Regions from separate parts of the Homo sapiens genome. Here region 2 is linked to region 1. The links are contacts of gene promoters, found by promoter capture Hi-C in blood cells and fetal thymus (Javierre and others, 2016). All regions are on one chromosome and are shown on one strand. The core of a region is centred on a gene start or on the middle of the fragment in contact, and the rest is flanking DNA. Distances in the headings are between cores, read along the strand shown. Region 1 holds the start of CUL3 (cullin 3). Region 2 has its middle 44 kb from the start of MOGAT1.

The links. Contacts are between HindIII fragments. The CHiCAGO score rates a contact against its expected background, and 5 or more counts as called.
Region 2: a contact is called between a fragment that was not itself captured here and the fragment with the promoter of CUL3 in region 1, in 1 of 17 cell types (M0 macrophages). The highest score is 5.1, in M0 macrophages.

Annotation. Positions count from the first base shown.
Region 1 is chr2:224,583,800-224,587,455 of GRCh38, forward strand. CUL3 (cullin 3) reads right to left here and starts at 1,564. Exons shown (of 16, transcript NM_003590.5): 1 at 1,145-1,564. The coding sequence starts at 1,210. RefSeq lists silencers at 1,028-1,287, 1,618-2,037. The HindIII fragment of the contact is 1,789 bases long and covers 549-2,337 here.
Region 2 is chr2:222,713,902-222,717,557 of GRCh38, forward strand. No RefSeq gene overlaps it. Among named protein-coding and RNA genes, the nearest start is that of MOGAT1, 44 kb to the left of the region's middle. The HindIII fragment of the contact is 709 bases long and covers 1,748-2,456 here.

The DNA.
Region 1 (3,656 bases), core at 314-2,813:
AAGTCTTTCCTCACTGCAACTGCGCTTCAGGAAAAGCATGCTTTAAAAAGTGACAACAAATCCCCCTCTTTCGCTGGTACATCATATGAAGTATTTATGAATCTAAGAAGGGAAGACCAAGATCTTTCTCTAATTTTACTTTTTAAAATCTTCTGTCCGATTGCTAGTTCGTCTGTCTTGACGTATGCCTTTTATTGTAGCGACATAGGCAAGTATGCCCAGTTCGTTAACAGTACATTTTAATTGCTTGCCACGGGGAAGCTGAACCAGATTTGACACCCAAAGTTATATCCTATATACTAAACATCGCAAGGGTACGACTCAACGTAATGCCAAAAAAGAAAAAGTTTCTGAGCAGAACACGTTTGCTGTCACTGAAAGCGATGAAACAAAGCTACTCCGCAAGGCGACTACACTCATTCTTTGGGCTCCCAAGGCTGAGAAATGGAGAACCAATTGGCCGGTTTGCTCTCTGTTGCTTCCCCCCCACCCGGCCTTCCTCCGAGTGGCGAGGCAATCCTGCACAAGAGTTTGTAAAGTGCTTAGGAAGCTTGTAGGATGAAAGACGCTATAAATACACCCAATGTTACTAGTTTATGACCACGGAGCATTCCGTGGAACCACTGTCACTGCGTCGGGGGCAGGTTGATGGCATAGACCTTCCTGGGGAGGGGGGCAGAGAGAGAGGGCAGCCCCTTCATCACCCTAAAAGCTAGGCTGGGTAAATTTTCAAAGTGTAGCGAAACCCCACGTGAAAAGTTCCACACACGCCCCACACAGGGAGGACTCCGCGGCTGCTAGCAGCGCCGGAGACTGGGCCTACAACCCCGGCAACGTGGGGAGGCGTGGGGCGGCCGAGGGGCCCCGGCCGCAGCCGACGCCCGCGGAGCGGCTGAAGGAGCAGCTCCCGGACGGGGGCGCGGCGCCAGGCCCGGGCTCCCGGCGCGGGGAACGGCCCGGGAGGGCGGCCGCGCCGGGGCCCCGCGCCGCCCGGTTGCCGGGAAGGCTCGCGCCCCGCGGCCGGCGGGCGTGGGGGAGGGGAGGCCGGGCCTGCGGCCTGTTGGGGGACTTCAGCCCGGGCCTCGCGTGCGGCTCTCGGCCCGGCCCCCGGCCCCGGGGTCCCGGACGCCGAGGAGAGACTCACCGGAAAGGCCCGGATCCGCATCTTGGTGTCCTTCCGGCTGCCCGTGCCTTTGCTCAGATTCGACATGGTGCTCGTCCCCTCCCCGGCGGCGGCTTCAGGTCGCGCTCCGCGACGCCGGTGTCACATTTAAGGCGGGCAGGCAGGCTAGGGGCGACGCTGGGGGCGGCGGCGGCGCGACCCCCGGGCAGGGCTGGGGAGCTGGCCGGCCCCTGGGCAGCCGCGGCGGCGGCGGGGGCGGCGGCGGCGGCGGCGGCGGCTCGGACTCTGGCGACTCCGATGCGGCTGGGGGGCTGCGCTGGCGCGGCGGCTCCGCGGGGTCCCCCTCACGTCCGGCTCGGCTCCCTTTATCGCGCTCCTCCGCGATGGCGGCGGCGGCGGCGACGGACAAACATCTCACTGCGCAGGCCGAACGTCGTCCTCCTCCTCCTCCTTCTCCTCCTCCGCCTGAGCGAGACGAGATCCGGCCCAGAGGGTGGAGGGGGGAGGAGGGAGGGAGGAGAGCCGGAGAGTGAGAGATGCCGGGGGAGGGAGGTGGGAGGACGGGAGGGGGAGCCCGGCGGCCGCCGCGGGGGACGCTCAGATCTCGCGAGAAGAGGGCGAGCGCGCTGCCCCCCTGGTGGGCGGGGCGAAGCCCGGGAGAGGGTGGGCGCCACCGGAGGGGAGGAGGGGAACAGGGAACTGAAGGAAGTGGGAGGGGCCGGCGGGGCGGGGAAGCGGAAAGGGGGCGTGGCTGAGGGCGGGAGGATTAAGCTGCCTTTTTGAAAGTGGAGCGCCAGGTCCCGGGTTCTGGGTGGAGGTGGTTGCTGATTGGTGGAGCTCGGAGCGGCGGTTGGGAGGGTCCTGGTCACATGGTGGGGAGTGGGAGGGGGGAAGTTCGGAGAGCGGGAGCGGGATGGTAGTGGGCTGGGCCCCACTGGGCTGGGACAGCAGGAGGATAGTCTTGAGGAGGAGCGTGGGGTGCTAGATGTGTAACTACGTCCCGAACTGGTTCCTGTGTTTTTCTAGGGCATGTGGACTAGGGATGGGTACTTGAGTAGAAGCCTGCAACTTGAAGAGTTTGTGCAGGAGTTAGCTGCAGTGTCGGAAATTAGTGTCCTGTATGCTCAACAAGGTATTCGGACTGGGTGTGCACACCACAGCTCTCAGGACTGGAAGGTGGAAATTTAATCTACGAAGTTCCCTTAAACTGCATAAGCTTCGGGACCTCTTGATTCACTGATATTTTCTGGTGGACCCAGGGCTTATTCATGTTAAAACCTGTTTTTCATTACCATCAGAATAAACTGACAGCTCCATTAATGAAATGCAGCATTTGGTAAATAATGTTAAGTGGAATGATAGAAACCTATCTTTAACCTACCGGATAAATCATTTCTACCATTACCAAGAGTATTGTAGATTTTTAAAGCCAAAATTACCGTCTGATTCAGTTGCTGTATATTTGAAAAGGTTTTGGCTTTTGGTTTTGGAGGAGAGGCGTTTGGTCGCTTTATAGTCAAAATGTCTAATTTGACTTATCGGTTTTGCTGTCCATTTGTTATGAATTGTACTTCCTCATTTACCTACTTGCCCAATTGCTGTTATGTTTGGGTTTCTGACTCTGCAAGGGAATACGTGAGTTCTTATTAAAGTTTGTGTTCTTCCTATTTTAAAGAAGCATATGTTTGGGGGATGGATATCTACATTTAGAAGCTGGAATTTTAATACTTTTAAATAGCAAACAATATAAAGTGAAATACACTTATTTGTTGACTGTAAGGTTGAATTTGCCCTAAATTAACTTAATCCTGATGACTAAGCTTATGAGTGTTGTGCTTAAAGCCCCTTCTTGCTTAAAACGCCCCACTGCAAATACCATATTTTCTTGTTTTTTTTTTTTTTTTGTGGGAGTTTTTTGGTATTGGCTAATTAAAGCAGGAGCTTAAGAAACAAGAATGTTGCTTAAGACAATATCTGTAAATACTGAAGCTAAAAATAGGTTATCAAGAACTGAGTTGATAAACTAAGATTGGGAGAGGCTCTGACTTCAATGTAAGATAATGTCAGCCTTGAATAGGAGTTTATAATCTCTATGCTAATTGAACCTCCATTTCCATAACATAATATAATAACAAACAATGTTTTTCTCTTGGTTGTACTCTCATATGGCCCAGTTTCTTTGTAATGTAAGAATATATGTTCAGAATAGGGATCTCTGAGGAACCAAAAAAAGAAATAAAAAAATATTTTAAAAAAGAATATGTGTTCTTGGAGCCATTGTTTGAATCTCAATTCTGCCACTTTACTAGCTGTGTTTTGCATCTTTTGGGGCATGGAGTTGACAATCCCCAGAATTTCTCATCTGTAAAAGGGAGACAATAACAATACTTCCTCCTTGGGCTACCGTGAAATTTAAATAGATGAATACGTTTTAAAGAGCCCTGAGAACTGGGCATGGAGCAGCAACTTACCACCTGTTGGCTGTTATTAACATGGGCATTAAAGCCAAGGTTATACTACTTCCTTTATTCAA
Region 2 (3,656 bases), core at 852-3,351, 1.9 Mb before region 1:
CTAGTACCTTATATTTTTTTGTTATAGTCAATCCTTCCCAAACACCTCCAGCTTAGTGCCTTACTATCTTATATCAAAAGGAGAAAGTTGATCTCAATCCATGTTAACCCATAGGATAATGAGTTCTTCAGTAGCAGAATCTGTGTCTTGTTTTCATTTCAATCCTGACCCCAACAGAGGAGGTCTCTAGTAGTCTCTTGGGGAATGTTTGTGGCACTAACCTGGAAATCTGGTGGATTGTGTCAAAGAAGCCAAGTTTTAGCACTAGAAGGGACTTCATCATCTGTCTAATTATTCCTTCTGCCGATGAAGCAGTTGAACCCTAGTGAAGTTTCATGCAGATTAAAAGTGACTCCATGTTCCTATTACTCTTCCCTAGATTGAGCAGGAGGTACTCCTAGTCCATGATTGCTGATTAATAAACCTAAAAATCCTCCTATAAAACAGAAGTGTCAAAAAAAAGTAGAGCGTAATTAAAAATCCACTTGAAGCAAGGGATTAAACAGTGCAGAATCAAGCTGTCTTATTGGCATTGAGAACATTTTTCTTTTTGGGGGCCGGTACACCACGTTGTTGATTTTTCCCTTTTGTAAGAGCTATTTTGGTGCTGTGTCTTGGGAAAAGTCCAAGTTTTCAACAACAAGTTTAGCCTCGAGAGCCTTGTGTATTGGAGCAGTGAATAAGGCAAGGTGTCATATGCCCATGACAACTGACAGACCCAGAAAAAAATCTTCCATCAGTCGTGTTGTGATCATTAGAGCAGGCCAGAGCAATCCTATTACTCAGACAGAGGTGGAGGCCGAGCTTCTGTCACCTCATTGATGGTACTAAGCCCAGACTCAATTCTGGCTCCAGCCTCATTCAGCTGAGTTATCACAGCTGCTTTTTTTTTTTTTTTTTTAATAGCTCTTAGATTCTGGTTAAGAATCATCTTAGGCTCTCTTGAGAACAGACATGAACCTGATGTTGCTGGCGTTCCCCAAGCCTGCTTAATTCTCTCCTACTCCATTTCCAGACCAACTTGGAGCCTTAGATCTTTCTGGTTGGATTCCAGACCCTGCAATGTGGGTTTGCAGTGATGTGGGGACAATCAGAGAACTAGAACCTGGTTGCCACATTTTTCTACTCTCCAGCCTTCTGTTTTAGATAGTCCTTCAGCCTCTGATCTTCTAGTAATTGGCTAGGTAACCTGGACTCTGTTCTTTCCTAGGTAAATAGAGTTGGGAGTGAATGATCCTCCAGGTCATTTCTGCCTGTATCTTATGGTCTCTGCCTGGCCTTTTATCTGTCAAGGCAATAACATCTAATTGGAGGTGTAGGTTTACCTGATAACTCTGCCTTTTCCTCCGCCTTTGTCACTTATTTCTGTTCCTCCAAGAAATGCAGTGAGCTGAAATGATTATCTCACTTTCTTGGTGTATGTATGTGTGTATATGTGCATATACACATACATGCACACACATGCACACGTTTTATATATATATAAAACAAATTATATAAATATATATATATATGAAACAAATTGCTACTGGAATTTCTCTAGGATCACAATAATATTTAGTCATGTGTTTCTGAGAAAAAATTTAATTCCCTAAATAAAAATAGGTGGAATTTATCTCAGAAGTTTCCTCCTTTCTATCATTCAAAACTATGGAATAACACTGTTTATTACTTGTTAAAATCTTTATAGGAGACTGTGAAATTTGTATATTTTCTATATGGGATTCGTTGTGGTATGTTTTTTAAAAGCTTTCCATTTGTAAAAGTTTTGACCAATAAATGTGTTTTTATGCCTGAGTGATAATGTATGAGTGTGGCTTTCAACCTGGATAGAATGTTTTTCATCTCCCACACTTTGGCGAGGCTGAATTAATTTAGACTTGAGGATGAATATCGGCGAGGAAACTGGTGTGAAACTGTGAGAATTGCAAATTGTCAGAGTGAGGAGTCAGTACTTTAAATTCTCTTGATGGAATATAAAATACAGCAGAAAGCGGGGGCGGGGTTAACTGACAACTGCAGGTGGACAGGAATGAAAGAAGAACTGGGGCTGGCAGGAGGAAACGAGTCCGCCAACTGCCGTGGTCTCATGTGCCTGGAGAAACAAAGAGGCTCCTCGGATTCAGAAATATTCAAAAACTAGTAGAAAAGATTGAAAATTACAAATCAAGTCAATCACTGCTAATGGGCATGGGGTTTCTTTTGGGGTGATGAAAAATGTTCTAAAATTAATCATGGTCATGGTTGCACAATGCTGCGAATATACTACCCCCCTGAAATTCTCCTTTTTAAGTGGGTAAATTTGATGGTATGTGAATTATATCTCAATAAAGCTGTGGTATAAAATCTAGTCAGTCAGACACTAGCCAAAACAATGGAAGAAGGTAAAAGTGAAATTCCTTTCTGGGTCAAGAATGAAGTTGCCTCCCTTTGGATGTCAGCGCCTTGTAGGACGAAGCTTCTACCTTGATTTGTGAGGCCTGTTTGTGTTCCTGGTGTTCATCATCAAAATCAGTGTTTTCAATACTCTTTTTAAAGTATTTTAGCCAGATACAGTGGCTCACTCCTGTAATCCCAGCACTTTGGGAGGCTGAGGTGGGTGGATCACCTGAGGTCAGCAGTTGGAAACCAGCCTGACCAACAAGGTGAAACCCCGTCTCTACTAAAAATACAAAAATTAGCCAGGCGTGGTGGCAGGTGCCTGTAATCCCAGCTACTCTGGAGCCTAAGACAGGAGAACTGCTGGAACCCAGGAGACGGAGGTTGCAGTGAGCCGAGATCGCACCACTGCACTCCAGCCTGGGTGACGGAGCAAGACGCCATCTTGAAAAAAAAAAAAAAAAAAGAAGAAGTATTTTATTGGATAAAGAACATGCTGTTGTATTACAGTGTAAACTACTGCTTGACTTTAATTTTTCCCAGTATTTTATTAATACTGTAGCATAAAACTAAGTATGCATTATGTTAACATATAAAACAATAGTCAACATTTGCCAATCAATTATCTAAAAGGTGCCAGATACAGGGTTAAATATTTTATGTATGTTGTGATATTTAGCTCTTAAAATATCCCTAGGAGGTTGGTACTGTTTTTATCCTATAGACTGGGGCTCCAAGGGGTTAAAAACTGTGCTTGAAGCAACCCTGATGGCGAGTGGTGGGGCTTAGCACAGTAATGCTGGGTCCTCTGGCCAGACCCCATGCTCTAGATGTAGGACCCGAGAGCCTTGAGGGTATGTGATGCTTGCTGTGAGATTCTGGGTAAGTAACTGCATACCCTTTACCTATCAAAGAAGAGGAAGAGGCTGGGCGTGGTGGCTCACGCTTGTATTCCCAGCACTTCGGGAGGCCGAGGTGGGTGGATTACAAGGTCAAGAGATCGAGACCATCCTGGCCAACATGATGAAACCCTGTCTCTACTAAAAATACAAAAAAAAAAAAAAAAATTAGTGGGGCGTGGTGGCGCATGCCTGTAGTCCCAGCTACCTGGGAGGCTGAGGCAGGAGAATTGCCTCAACCCAGGAGGCGGAAGTTGCAGTGAGCTAAGATCCCACCACTGCACTCCAGCCTGAGCGACAGAGTAAGACTCAGTCTCAAAAAAAAAAAAAAAAAAGGGAGAGGATGAGGCAGGAAGGCTAAGGTTCTTTTTGGGTCTA